Linked DNA regions of Homo sapiens: region 1 is linked to region 2. The links are contacts of gene promoters, found by promoter capture Hi-C in human tissues and cell types (Jung and others, 2019). All regions are on one chromosome and are shown on one strand. The core of a region is centred on a gene start or on the middle of the fragment in contact, and the rest is flanking DNA. Distances in the headings are between cores, read along the strand shown. Region 1 holds the start of LOC101928212 (a long non-coding RNA gene). Region 2 holds the start of WDR4 (WDR4 tRNA N7-guanosine methyltransferase non-catalytic subunit).

Region 1 (6,786 bases), core at 3,699-6,198, 310 kb before region 2:
TAGACTTCAAAATACGTAGGTTCTGGATGATTTTCATATTGTGTGTTCTTTATTTTATATACATATTACGTGCATATACAAGCATTTATTTTTTTGAACGCTGGTTCATTTTTATAGTTTTAGGCTTCTAGGCACTGTTTCCCCTGATCTTTTTCCCCTCCTATTGTCCTCATTTTGGCTTTTTTCCCATTGTCTATGCAACATTTTCAAAACCAGAGCTCCTGGCGGCTGCTCACCGAGGACCTGCGCCAGCCTTGGTTTCTCAGCTCTCCCCTCCTCCCTTCTTCCCCTGGCGTTTGCTATTGATCAGGTTGAATTTTAGGTCCTGCAGAGACATCTGACAGGGGTCCCAGGAAGGCCCTGGCTGTCGAGGAATCCAGCAGACACGTGGATGTGTCTGGGAAGGAAGGCCGGCGCAGCTCAGGGCAGGGGCGCGCGTTGCGCACCTTCACGCCTCTCACGCTGGCTGCTCTGGGGCCTCAGGGAGGAGCAGGACTGTGCGGAACAAACGTTTTTTATTTGAAGAGAATCCTAAGAGTTCTTGTAACTAGAACCAAGCATTTCTGATGACTTTTGACTCTTAAAAACCCTTGAAGTTTTAACTCTCCAAGGCAAGCTTGGGGTGGAGTTTAAATAATGGGAAACACCCTCACGATGAGTTGTTTTGCAGAGCAGTTTGAGTAAATGGTCATACAGAGGCTTAGGTTTACTTCTCATGCTGTGGCGATAACTGCACGTCTGTTTTTCCTCTCTTCTAGGGGACTCATAAAAGTCTGAAAGGCAACGCGCACGCCCTCTCCACCGTGACGGCCATCATTGACGGGACGGGCTCTGTAGGTGCGCAGAGAGTTTTAGCTCTGGGAGGTTTGGTGTCTTAGGGGAAATCACATTGTCACATGCTCGTGAACAGGTACCCAGGGTTCCAACTGCATCTATAACATTGGGTGGGCCGGCTTCTTACTATACGAGCAGATGAGCAGGGGACATCGGCACACAGAGATGGTCACGCATGCCTGGGTGGCTTCAGAGAGACGGGCGTGTGACTAGCTGTGCGTGTCCAGGTTTTCACCCGAGGCAGTGGTTGGCAAACTACAGCCCGTGGGCTAACTCAGGTCCACTCATTATTTATCGCCTTCATCTCAAGAAAGGCAGAATCTTATTTAAATTACAGAAAAACCAATTGGTCCAAAATCATACAGGGTTCTGAGTGTTACCAGCATCGTCGAAGCTCTTGAAGAGAATTCAGTGGCATATTCTGGAATTTAAAAAGGTGGCAGAATAAGCAAGCCATCCCCTTAGGGAGCAGGCAGGTGGAGCTGGCAGAGTGCCAGTCTCCTCGCCCATGTGCAGCCTGACGGCACGGCTGTGGCCTTCCCTGAGCCCTTGTATGGGGAGCACGCACAGTGGCTGCACCTGCCAGGCGAAAATCAGGAGTTGCCACACCTGCCAGGTGAAGATCAGGAGGGTCCTTCCTACATGGGGGACGTTATGGGGGGCTGCCTGGTGTGGCTGTCACAGCTAATAAGGAGGACCTGGGGTGCCAACCTGTGTGTCACTTGCTGCGTGGGGGTCTCCAGTAAAGCCGAGTGTTTGGTAGATGAAGGTGGCTCGGTAGACCCAGGTCAGCCAGAACCTGGTGCTGGAGCCTTCCCACTGGCTCGTGCAGGGAGCTGATGTTGTTCTTGGCTGCCCCTGGCCTTGGTGCCAGCAGGCTGGAAACATCACAGCACGTTTCTGGGTGCCCACTGCTGTCTCAGTGATGCAGAATGCAAAGCCCTCCCGCCACATGGCCTCCCTGCTGCTCCTCCGAAGGCCAGGCTGGCCCCCGTGCGGGCTCTTTGCTCTGGTCACACCCCGTGCCTGGGAAGGTCCCCACAGGTGACCTCGTGCCGCACTCCCTCGTGCCGCACTCCCTCGTGCCGCACTCCCTCGTGCCGCACTCCCTCGTGCCGCACTCCCTCGTGCCTTGAGTCTTTGCCCAGATATCATCCTCTCAGCAAGACTTCCTGGGACCACCCTGCTGAGAACGCGTGAACCCTTCCGACTCGGCCTCCAGGCCCCTCTCCCGGGTCTGTTCTCTGGAGCGCTCTCCCCATCCGCAGTGGGATTCGGTGCACTCCTCTGTTTTGTCTCCTCTGTCTCCTGCCACTGGAACGGAAGCTCCAGGAGGACGGGATTTGCCTGATTCTTTGCTGTATCCCAGTGAACTGAATGAGCTGCTCCCAGACAGTTAGAATCGCAGCCGGGGCCCAGGCGGCTGACTGCACAGTGAGGAGCCAGGCCGGACAGGCCCCAGGCGCCCCCGCCCAGCCCTGGGTGGCGGGAACCCCAGCTCCACGCTGCTGCTGCTGCGTTTCCTTGTTCTGCGTTTCCTTGTTCTGGCCTTGTTCTGAGAAGCGGCGGGCAGGGTGGCCGTTGCCATGTGACACACGGCCTGATTCTGAGAAGCGGCGGGCAGGGTGGCCGTTGCCATGTCATGCGACACACGGCCTGGTTCTGAGAAGTGGTGGGCAGGGTGGCTGTTGCCATGTGACACACGGCCTGGTTCTGAGAAGCGGCGGGCAGGGTGGCCATTGCCATGTGACACATGGCCTGGTTCTGAGAAGCGGCAGGCAGGGTGGCCGTTGCCATGTCATGTGACACACGGCCTGGTTCTGAGAAGCGGCAGGCAGGGTGGCCGTTGTCATGCGACACACGGCCTGGTTCTGAGAAGTGGTGGGCAGGGTGGCTGTTGCTCAGAAAGCCACACTTTGGCTTTTGCTGTTCACCAAAGTGAGACCAGACCAGCCTCGTCTCTGCCCTTCATGTTGGTTCCTTCCTTTCACTGGATCCAGAGGGGCTTTGAGTGTATTGGGTGGCGGCAGTAGTCACCCCTCTGATCTTCTGTCTTGGGCATCTCAGTAGGAAGTCGGGGGACTGCGGGGCTGAGCTCAGTTCTGGTTGACGTTGTGACTGCGTGGCCTTCTCTTGGCCTTGTGCCTCAGTGGACTGCAGTCTGCAATTCGGTCTGACTCTGCTGTGAAACCCTGTTCTTAAAGCTAACTTGGCGCTCTACTGGCAACCCCGATTGCTGTTTTAAAAGCAGAGGATCAGCATAAAAAAAGAGAAGGAAATCATGAACTAGGTGAAAAAACACATTTTTCTTCATATTCTCAAAATGAGAGGGAAGCAGAAGTCTGTGGCTAAGGGTGGAGACCCTGCGTCTGTGAACAGAGGCCACTGCCCACCACTGCCCCCAAGCAGGTGGAGGGAGGCACAGTTCTGAATGCCTTTGGCCCCTCACAAGGAAGGTGGCACACACACCGGACCCCCTCTGGCCTTCTGTTAACCTGCACCAAGTCCTGACTGTCCGCGGAGCTGCCGCGCCCACCTTGATGGCTGCTGCGTTACACCAGAGGCAGGACCAGGACCTGACTCCTCCAGGCTCCACTGCCCATCAGTGCCTGCTGCCTGCTCAGTGAATGGTCACCATGGAAACGGCGCTCAGGCCTACCCACCCCCACCACCACGCCTTGGTCATTGTTCCTTCCATGAGTGAGTGCTGCCCAGCAAGACAAAGTACAGGCTCCAGTGGGAAGGCCACCATGTCAGCCAAGTCCCTTCCCGAAGGAGGTGCCCGCATGCTTATTCAGTGTCACTGTCCACTCCTTGGCAGTGACTCGGGTGGAGGCGAAACATGACTAATCGTAAATCACCCCTGCCTTCTCCCAAGTGCCACACGGTTTGTTGACACGGTGTGCGCCTGGGGCGTTCACAGTGCTTAGAATCGCAGAGGTTGCCGTTTCTGTACATTTCATGCAGAGCAATTAAATAGGGCACTGCATTTTTCTTCAAGTTAATTTTTATTTATTAAAGTAAAACATAATGTACCTTAGAAGCTAGACAGTCCTACAAGCTTATTATGTTGTACAGCGGCGTTCCGTCCCCCTCCCCAGCCCTCTCTTTCTAGAGGCAGCCAATTTCAGCTGCCTCTCTCTGCTTACCTACGTATTTCCATGTTTCTTGGTTCATCATCTGAACGTCATCAGCTGTGCTCCTCTTACGGAAGAGGGGACCTGGCTCCCTTCCACCCCGACATTGCCCACCCCTCCTCCTCCTCAGTTATACCAGCCATGCTTCTGCCCTTCACTTTCCAGCCAAGAAACAAACTTTAATTATGCACCCTCAATAGATACATCTTGTTTTTTCCCGGGTAAGTAAACATCTCTTTTCCTCTTTTTCACATTTCCGACAAAGTTCTTCCTTCCCTGCACCGTGGTCGCCATCCTGCCCTGCCCCACCCCTTTCACGCCATCAGCCTCACTCCGCCCACTGCGCGGCTTGGCCCCAGAGCACCTGTCACCACGGTGCTGGGAGTCCCCCTCCTCTCTTGCCTGCGACACAGCCCTAGCAGTCTAGACCCCTGTTTACCACTCCTGTGGTGGAAACTGGCTCCTAGCAGCTTCCTGAGTTAGGGGAGGTGGGTTCTGCAAGCTTACAAGTGCGTGATGGCTGGATTCTGCTCTCGCCTGAGGCAATGTGGACGTGGAAACACCTTCTCTTCAGAACCCCCGTCTTCCAGCCTCCATTGCTGTCACTGACACGTTCACAGACATTCTGACCCCAGCCCTTGCTTTCTGACCTTCTCTTTTTTCTCTTAGATCTCCAGGTTCCCTTCCTTACCCCGGGAGCCTTTCTTCATCCACCGTCCTGGGGCACCTGGTGGCACCTTCAGTCTGGAAACACCTGCCCTTCACTTTAGGGGAATTGGGCCCCTGTTCGTTTGATAAGTTTTCCTACCATTTTCTGATTTGTTTTTTCTTTCTGGAAAATGTATTAGTCAGATGTAGGCTTTTCTGGATTAATCCTTCAACTTTCCTTTCTTTCTTTCCCTTCCTGCCTGTCTCCCTGTTCTTTCTTACACTTTCTCAGGGAGATTCTTGACTGTATTTTCCAACTTTGTATCGACCATTTTACTTTTCCTGCCATATTTTCAATGTTTACTGATGTTTCTCTGCCCTTTCAGTGCATCCTGTTTTATTTCATGTTAGACTGAATCATGTGAAATTGATAACAGGTTTTCAGCCACACACACACAAAAAAAAAAAAAAGAGTGTGTCCTGAGGTTCAGCTTAGTCTTCTGTTGGCTCTCTGGGGGGAGGTTCAACTTAGTCTTCTGTTGGCTCTCTGTGGGTGCTGTGAGCTCTGGGAATGTTCTTCTCCTCCAGGCTCCCTCCTGCCAGCTTGCTTGCTTTCACGTTGGGGTGTTCCCCAGACACAGGGCAGACCTAGGTTGCCCCTTCATCACTTCCCATGGAAGAAGGGGCCCTGCATAGTGGTTTGAAGTCTCTCTGTGGGGACAGTGTGCTGGCTGCTGGTCTCCAGGCAGTGGGACCCTGCGGAACCTGCAGGAGGAGACTCCTTCAGTGCCCAGGGGAGCCTGGGTCCAGCTGCCAACATCCTTGCCATGGCATGGAAGCTTGGTGGAAGCTGGTGTCTTTCCCCAGATCCCCTGTCGCCTGTTAGGTGAGCATCCCTGTCCTGCACTGGGCTTAGTGTCCCCACGGGTTAAGCTGCGCTGTCCTGCACGGGGGCATCAGGAGGAGTCTCTTTATCAGTGAGGATGAGAAAAGAGACCTGGGATCCGAGGTGCGGCAGAGGGAATGTAGCTAACAGTTTGTGATAAAAGACTCAACCCATGCACCTTTTTTCTCTTGCTGACCCCCTTCCGTTCCCACTGCGTTCCTCCTTCCTTGCCTTCCCCTCCCCTGTCTCTTGGGCTCCGCTGGGCCTCGCTCTGCTCCAGGTGTCCCTGTGCTGTCTCCCTCTGAGGATGCTCAGTGGAGCAGGGAACACTGGAGGCTGTGTTAGCTGTCAGCCCTTCTGTGTCCATCTTCCAAAACTACGTGCCCTTCGGTGGGAGGATTTATCATCTTTAGAAGTCAGTGATGGCGCAGTTCATGTTGCTTGGGGGTGTGGAGATAACACATGAGTAGCCGACCATGTTTACCTGGAAGTTCTGAGAATTAAAAAAAAAAACATACAATTGCTCCTGGGATTATAAAATAGTAAGTGCACTTTGTGAACACTTGAAAAAAACAAGTGCCTAGGGCATGAAAGACCCTGGTTATCTTACCTCTCAGAGTTGAATATGTCAGTTCATAGGTTGGTGGAAATTCTTCATGCTTTTTCCCATGCATCTACCAAAACAGGCCATCCTACATGTGTATCAGAATTCATTTCAGTCCCTCTTGGTAAAATGCACCAGATGCTACAAAACACATTCTTAAACAGCAGTCCTTGGGCATTTAGGGGGATACGTTATTTGTTTTCATCATTTAAAAACACATCTTGACATAATTTCAGACTTTGAGAAAGTTGCAGAAATAGTACAAAGAATTCAGACATTTTAGTACATGTGGTTCATCATGCACCCGTGTTTTTACACACACACATGCACACACACATATATGCACACACACATGCATAATTTTTCTGAACCACTTAAGAGTAAGATGCACACATGCTGCCCCTTTCCTCGTAACTATTCAGCATGTACTTCCTAAAAACAAGGAGTTCCATGACAGACCACAGTGCATGATCAGAATCAGAAAGTGAGCATTGAAAGAATATTAGTATCTACAATTCTTATTCAAATTTTACCCAGTTACATTTTTATAGCATAAGAATATCTAAGATTGTGCATTGAATTCAGATTTCCTTACGTGTACTCAAGAAAATAATGGGAGTGTTGGATGAAAAGAATGAACATTGCAATGTCAACACACATTTTTAGGATGGTTCTGG
Region 2 (7,114 bases), core at 4,223-6,722:
GCACTTTGGTGTTGCGAGAAGTCAGGGACCCCAAACGGAGGGACCAGCTGAAGCCATGGCAGAAGAATGTGGATTGTGAAGATTTCATGGACATTTATTAGTTCCCCAAATTAATACTTTTATAATTTCTTATGCCTGTCTTTACTGCAATCCCTAAACATAAATTGTGAAGATTTCATAGACACTTATCACTTCCCCAGTCAATACCCTTGTGATTTCCTATGCCTGTCTTTACTTTAATCTCTTAATCCTGTCAGCCGAGGAGGATGTATGTCACCTCGGGACCCTGTGATAATTGCGTTGACTGCACAAATTGTAGAGCATGTGTGTTTGAACAATATGAAATCTGGGCACCTTGAAAAAGAACAGGATAACAGCAATGTTCAGGGAACAAGAGAGATAACCTTAAACTCTGACCGCTGGTGAGCCAGGCGGAACAGAGCCATATTTCTCTTCCTTCAAAAGCAAATGGGAGATATATAGCTGAATTCTTTTTCTCAGCAAGGAACATCCCTGAGAAAGAGAATGCGCCCCTGAGGGTGGGCCTCTGAAATGGCCCCCTTGGGTGTGGCCATCTTCTGGTCGAGACTGTAGGGATGAAATAAGCCCCAGTCTCCCATAGCGCTCCCAGGCTTACTAGGATGAGGAGATTCCCGCCTAATAAATTTTGGTCAGACCGGTTACTCTCAAACCCTGTCTCCTGATAAGATGTTATCAATGACAGTGGTGCCCGAAACTTATTAGCAATTTTAATTTTGCCCCGGTCCTGTGGTCCTGCGATCTCGCCCTGCCTCCATTTGCCTCGTGATATTCTATTACCTTGTGAAGCATGTGATCTCTGTGACCCACACCTATTCGTACACTCCCTCCCCTTCTGAAAATCCCTAATAAAAACTTGCTGGTTTTACGGCTCAGGAGGCATCACGGAACCTACCGACATGTGATGTCTCCCCCGGACGCCCAGCTTTAAAATTTCTCTCTTTTGTACTCTGTCCCTTTATTTCTCAAACCGGCCGACGCTTAGGGAAAATTGAAAAGAACCTACGTGAAATATCGGGGGTGAATTTTGCCCAATATCTGGCTGAATTTCCCCCAATACTTTGGGAGGACAAGGCGAGAGGATCGCTTGAGCTCAGGAGTTCAAGACCAGCCTGGGTAACATGGCGAAACCACGTCTCTACAAAAAACTACAAAAATTAGGCAGCCCTGGCGCGGTGCCTCACACCTGTAATCCCAGCACTTTGGGAGGCCAAGGCAGGTGGATCACGAGGTCAGGAGATCGAGACCATCCTGGCCAACATGGTAAAACCTCGTCTCTACTAAAAATACAAAAAAAAAATTAGCCGGGCATGGTGGTGCGTGCCTGTAGTCCCAGCTACTCAGGAGGCTGAGTCAGGAGAACCACTTAAACCAGGGAGGTGGAGGTTGCAGTGAGCCAAGATAGCGCCACTGCACTCCAGCCTGGCAACAGGGCAAGACTCCATCTCAAAAAAAAATTAGGTATGTTGGCATGTGCCTGTAGTCCCAGGTACTTAGGGGGATGAGGCGGGAGATCACCTGAACCCAGGAGGTCGAGGCTGCAGGGAGTTATGTTTGTGCAACTGCACTCCAACCGGGGTAACAGAGAGACCCTGTCTCAAAAAATAATAATAACGATAAAACAAACTGAGCCACAATACCAATGATAACTAAAGAAAGCCACCATACGAAACACTCACATGCTCTACTTTTATATCTCAATTAGCTGAAGTTAACTTCCTACACCCGCCTTCAACCATTACTTCAAGGAGCCAGTAAGATGTGATTACTGACAGAAACTAAAAGTATTTAGAAAAGTCCTAACACTGTGCTTTTTTTTTTTTTTTTTTTGAGACGGAGTCTTGCTGTGTCACCCAGGTTGGAGAGTGCGGTGGCGCAACCTCGGCCGACTGCAACCTCCGCCTCCTAGGTTCAAGTGATTCTCCCACCTCAGCCTCCCAAGTAGCTGGGACTACAGGCGCCCACCAGCATGCCTGGCTATTTTTAGTAGAGATGGAGTTTCATCACATTGGCAAGGCTGGCTTTGAACTTCTGACCTCAGTCAGCACCCTGGCTTCCCAAAGTGCTGAGATTATAGGCATGAGCCACCGCACCCGGCACTAACACTGTACTCTTTTTTTTTTTGGGAGACAGAGTCTTGCTCTATTCCCCAGGCTGGAGTGCAATGCCGCAATCTCAGCTCTCTGCAACCTCCGCCTCCCAGGTTCAAGTGATTCTTGTGCCTCAGCCTCCCAAGTAGACGGGATTACAGGTGCCTGCCACCACGCCCAGCTAACTTTTTTATTTTTAGTAGAGACAGGGTTTCGCCATGTTGGCCAGGATGGTCTGGAAATTCTGACCTCAGGTGATCCACCCACCTTGGCCTCCCAAAGTGCTGGGATTACAGGCATAAGCCACCGTGCTCAGCCAACAATGTACTCTTAATGCCTAACCTAAAAGTTACTTTTACATGTCTCTCCTGAGGTGCTACTTATCTGCACCACTGTGTGACAGAAGCTAAGAATTCAGCAAGTAGGACAACAATTGCTTCTTAGACCCTCTGGTCCCATTATCGAACCATTAAAGCAGGCCCTGAAAAAGCTTCCCCACATCTCACCCTTTATTTTCTTGTGACTTCTTTTCTGCAGCACTGCAGTCATAGATGAAGAGGCTGTCATCATCACTAAAGAGAAATAACAATAATTTTAAAAGGAGTTATCATTAGAGAGAAATAACAAATTTTTTTTTTTTGAGACGGAGTTTCGCTCTCGTTGTCCAGGCTCCAGTACAATGGCACGATCTTGGCTCACCGCAACCTCCGCCTCCCAGGTTCAAACGATTCTCCTGCCTCAGCCTCCCCAGTAGCTGAGATTACAGGCATGCACCAGCACTCCCAGCTAATTTTTACTTTTTGTAGAAACGGGGTTTCTCCATGTTGATCAGGGTGATCTCAAATCCCCAACCTCAGGTGATCCACCAACCTCAGCCTCCCAAAGTGCTCACAGGTGTGAGCCACTGCGCCTGGCCCATGTGAGCCACTGCGCCTGGCCCTAATTTTTTTTTTTTTTTTTTTTTTTGAGTTGGAGTCTCGCTCTATCACTCAGGCTGGAGTGCAAGGGCATGATCTCAGGTCACTGCAACCTCCCCCTCCTGGATTCAAGCAATTCTCCCGCCTCAGCCTTCCCGGTAGCTGGAATTACAGGTATCTGCCACCACGCCTGGCTAATTTTTGTAGTTTTGGTAGAGACGGGGTTTCGCCATGTTGGCCAGGCTGGTCTCAAGCTCCTGACCTCAGATGATCTGCCCGCCTCAGCCTCCCAAAGTGCTGAGATTATAGGCAGAGCCACTGCGCCCAGCCTAACAATGATTTTTAAAAGAGCACTTTGTTAAAAAAAAAAAAAAAAAGTTGATTTTTTTTCTCTGTGGAACAAAAAATATTTGCACACTCATTAAATTAAAAGTTGTATACTTGACAAGAAAACTGTCTAGATACAATATTTCAGGGAACAGTTAACAAACTTTATTTGCTTAATCTCTTATTGGAGTACGTCATACTGCATAGTTCTGTGGGAAAAAAAAGTTCAGTAAAACAAATGAGGGATAAATACTCAACAGGAATTAATATGCTATTCTTTTAGGCACCACAAAATCTATGCGACATGGTTATAAGAAATTACGGGCCGGGCGCGGTGGTTCACGCCTGTAATCCCAGCACTTTGGGAGGCCGAGATGGGCGGATCACGAGGTCAGGAGATCGAGACCAGCCTGGCTAACACAGTGAAACCCCCATCTCCACTAAAAATATAAAAAATTAGCCAGGCATGGTGGCAGGCGCCTGCAGTCCCAACTACTCGGGAGGCTGAGGCAGGAGAATGGCGTGAACCCGGGAGGCGGAGCTTGCAGTGAGCCAAGATCGCGCCACTGCACTCCAGCCTGGGCGACAAAGCGAGACTCCTCAAAAAAAAAAAAAAAGAAAAAAAAGAAATTATGTTCTGATACTGTTGAGCGTTCAGTGGGATTCTGTATACAAATTTCAAAGAGCCATTACTATTTAGAAACATATCTCACCTACCTGAAAGTGTTCCCATGACCCCAGGCACTTACCAACATAAGAATCACCCATTTTCCATACTGAACCTAAACTTCGGTTTATCCCATCCTCACCCCCTGGCACGTATCTTGTACATATTTATAGCCTTTAAAGCGAGTGCACCAAAAAACTTTCCATATGGAACCGTGGACTTGTCTTCCAAGTCAGAAACTCCACCAGCCACTAGAATTTCCTCAAAATGCAAAGACTGAAGGTAAGCAAATCATGTCTAATATATCCACAGCTCACTCTGGCAGATATTAGACCGTGAGTCTCTAAAACAAAATCATCTGGGATATGTGACGGGTTTCTGAGTACAATTTTTGTGAGACCTAACTTAACATCGAATTGGCTTTCTAAAACCAAACGAACAAAAAATATACAGTATATCTGACAGACACGTCGTCCGTTTCAAATATGAAATCACAAATAACCTGGGAAAGGAAACGAGGGGCTGAAACTGACAGCACTACTAATTGCTCCGAGAGTCCTGAGTTAGGACTGTTCCATCAACAAACATTTACTAAGTTAAAAATCCCCTGCGTCGTCCTAGCACTGGCGATACACTAAGGAAGGAGAATAAAATTACGGAAAGCAAAACCCGAGCCGTGCGAAGGGCCACTAGGGAGGTGCGCACTGCGAGCTCCACGTGCACCCTTGGGTTGGGTAAGTGTCGGAGATGACTTGGAGCCCTAAGGAGCAATTAAGGCCAGGTGAGTGGATGCAGGCCGGGAAGAGGGAACAGACAACCCTGCAAAAAGAGGGAGCGCGCTTGGAGGTCAGTGAGCTCGCAGTGAGTAAGCCCCTCCCTTCTCACCAGGGAGACCCGAGACCCGCTTCTTCCCAGTTCTGCAGAGCGTGTTCGGCCGGGCCTTGCTGACTGGTCAGCGTCGCCCCACGTGCTCTACCTACCCGGTCCCCGCCGGCGCCGCGGAGACCGGAAGCGACCCGGCGGCGCTAACCGGGCAAGAACACCGCAGACCAGCCATCTAGTGCAAGGAGCGCGCCGGAGCCGGGGAGCGGACGCCGAGAGCGGACGGCGAAAGCGGACCCTCCAGGCGCAGAGACGCGGCCAGGCCGAGACTGCGGCGGAGGACTCGTGGGCTGGAGCGGAGTTCCCCGGGGTCACCCCAGAGTGGGTGCGACCAGGCGGTGCGGGAGAAGCGGGGTCGCCAGGACCCGACGCGCGCCCGCAGCCTGGTCTCCCTGTTCCAAGACCAAGGCCCCCTCACCTGCTTGCTATGGAGGTGGCCAGGAATCGGCTGCCGCCCCGCACCACCAACGTCTGCCCGCACAACGCCAGTCCCACAGAGCCCGCCATGTACCCGCCCGCCTCACCGCCATACACATGTGCCAGCCCAGAGCCTCTTCCTGTCCGCACCGGTCGGTGACGCCAGGCGCAGACGCCGAGAGATGACGTATACCCCACGTACCGCGCATGCTCAAGGACGAGCCTGCCTTGAGCATGCGTGAAAGGTGCTGTGACCGCCCTCCGGGTTGTGGCTGGTGGCCTTCGGTGTTTCGGGTTTGGCAGTTCACTCACCAAGGTGATCTGATGGAGTGCACTTCGCACGATTCCAAGTACTTGCCTAATGTTCATCCTTTCCTCTAGACGGGGTAGGGCTGGTTCTGGATCTTTTTCCGCGGTAGCTGGAGAGACGTAGGACCTGATGATGGCTACTAGATGCCTGGTAAATGATCCTTCAAGAAGTGAATGAACCGGGGGCCGTGGCTCACATGAAGTCAGCAGTTCGAGAGCAGCCTGACCAATATGGTGAAACCCCGTTTCTACTAAAAGTACAAAAATTTGTTGGGCGTGGTGGCGTGCGACTGTAGCCCCAACTACTTGGGAGGCTGAGACAGAAGAATTGCCTGAACCCGGGAGGCGGAGGTTGCAGTGAGTCGAGATCGCCCCCGCTGCACTCCAGCCAGGGCGACAGAGCGAGACTCTCTCTCAAAAAAAAAAAAAATGTCCAAGATGTGGTCATGGGTGAGGGTGTCTCGGGTGGCGTCAAGTCTGAGGTCGCTAGAAGTAAGCCTACTGAATCTTTGCACTTAGACAAGCCACAGATGCCTTAAAATCTCCGAACTGTAGTGATATTTTCAACCCAAACTATGGTTAGTTTCCAGTGTTCATCCCAAGATCCCCAAAAGCCTCTTACAATCCCAGCATCAGGCACAAAATCTAGGATCTCACGGTCTGTTTTAGATTGGCTTGTCCGGTGCAGCTCCTCTTGATCCAGAGACTTACAAACTAAAAAGATTAATTTTCTCTCCCGTGCACGCAATATATGATGGTGAGCCGGGACCAGATAACCACAATAAATACTTGCATGTGAAAATGAGAAGAGGAGGAGACACAGTAATCACTGGTCCAAAGCAATTCTGAAATCCTACTGGAAGATGTTTTCAGGCCCTACAAGAATAAGAAGTCTTAACCAGGCCCGAGTTCTGCTTCCTGGGAGTATCTCCCCAGGCTGTATCTCAGCACAGCTCTTGCCTCTGCCCTCTTGGGTGTCCCTCCTTTTCCAGCACCTTCTTGGCCATGTTGAAGAATGTGCCCTTTGAGAAACTTTCTCAACCTCCTTCCTGTCATTAGCAAATTGTGAGCCCACAGACCTTTTTTCACTCTAAACTGTTCTGTCCACATTTTGGCAGCTGGTGGTGCTTTGTTCACTACAAGTCCCTTAAAAGCTTTATGGGCTTCTCAAGAATCTGATTCAGGTGCTCTCCATGCCCAAGAAGCCACTCCCACTAGTCTTTTTTTTTTTTTTAGACGGAGTCTCGCTCTGTCGCCCAGGCTGAAGTGCAACCTCCACCTCCCGAGTTCACGCCATTCTCCTGCCTCAGCCTCCTGAGTAGCTGGGACTACAGGCGCCCGCCACCACGCCTGGCTAATTTTTTGTATTTTTCAGTGGAGACGGGGTTTCACCATGTTAGCCAGGATGTTCTGGATCTCCTGACCTTGTGATCCGCCTGCCTCGGCCTCCCAAAGTGCTGGGATTA

The links. Contacts are between HindIII fragments. The study calls those that stand out against the background at their distance.
Region 1: a fragment that was not itself captured here is called in contact with the fragment with the promoter of WDR4 in region 2 in 2 of the 25 tissues and cell types used here (lymphoblastoid cells and spleen).

What each region holds. Positions count from the first base shown.
Region 1 is chr21:42,567,602-42,574,387 of GRCh38, forward strand. SLC37A1 (solute carrier family 37 member 1) reads left to right here. Exons shown (of 20, transcript NM_001320537.2): 17 at 759-837. It overlaps LOC101928212 (a long non-coding RNA gene), which reads right to left and starts at 6,209. Exons shown (of 2, transcript NR_171773.1): 1 at 6,116-6,209; 2 at 5,483-5,998. RefSeq lists an enhancer at 4,121-4,864. The HindIII fragment of the contact is 5,386 bases long and covers 2,256-6,786 here.
Region 2 is chr21:42,874,067-42,881,180 of GRCh38, forward strand. WDR4 (WDR4 tRNA N7-guanosine methyltransferase non-catalytic subunit) reads right to left here and starts at 5,473. Exons shown (of 11, transcript NM_018669.6): 1 at 5,341-5,473; 2 at 2,636-2,701. The coding sequence starts at 5,429. LOC105372817 (a long non-coding RNA gene) reads left to right here and starts at 5,646. Exons shown (of 4, transcript XR_937765.3): 1 at 5,646-5,689. RefSeq lists enhancers at 3,535-4,498, 4,499-5,463, 5,116-5,165, 5,196-5,305, 5,376-5,725. The HindIII fragment of the contact is 11,595 bases long and covers 1,137-7,114 here.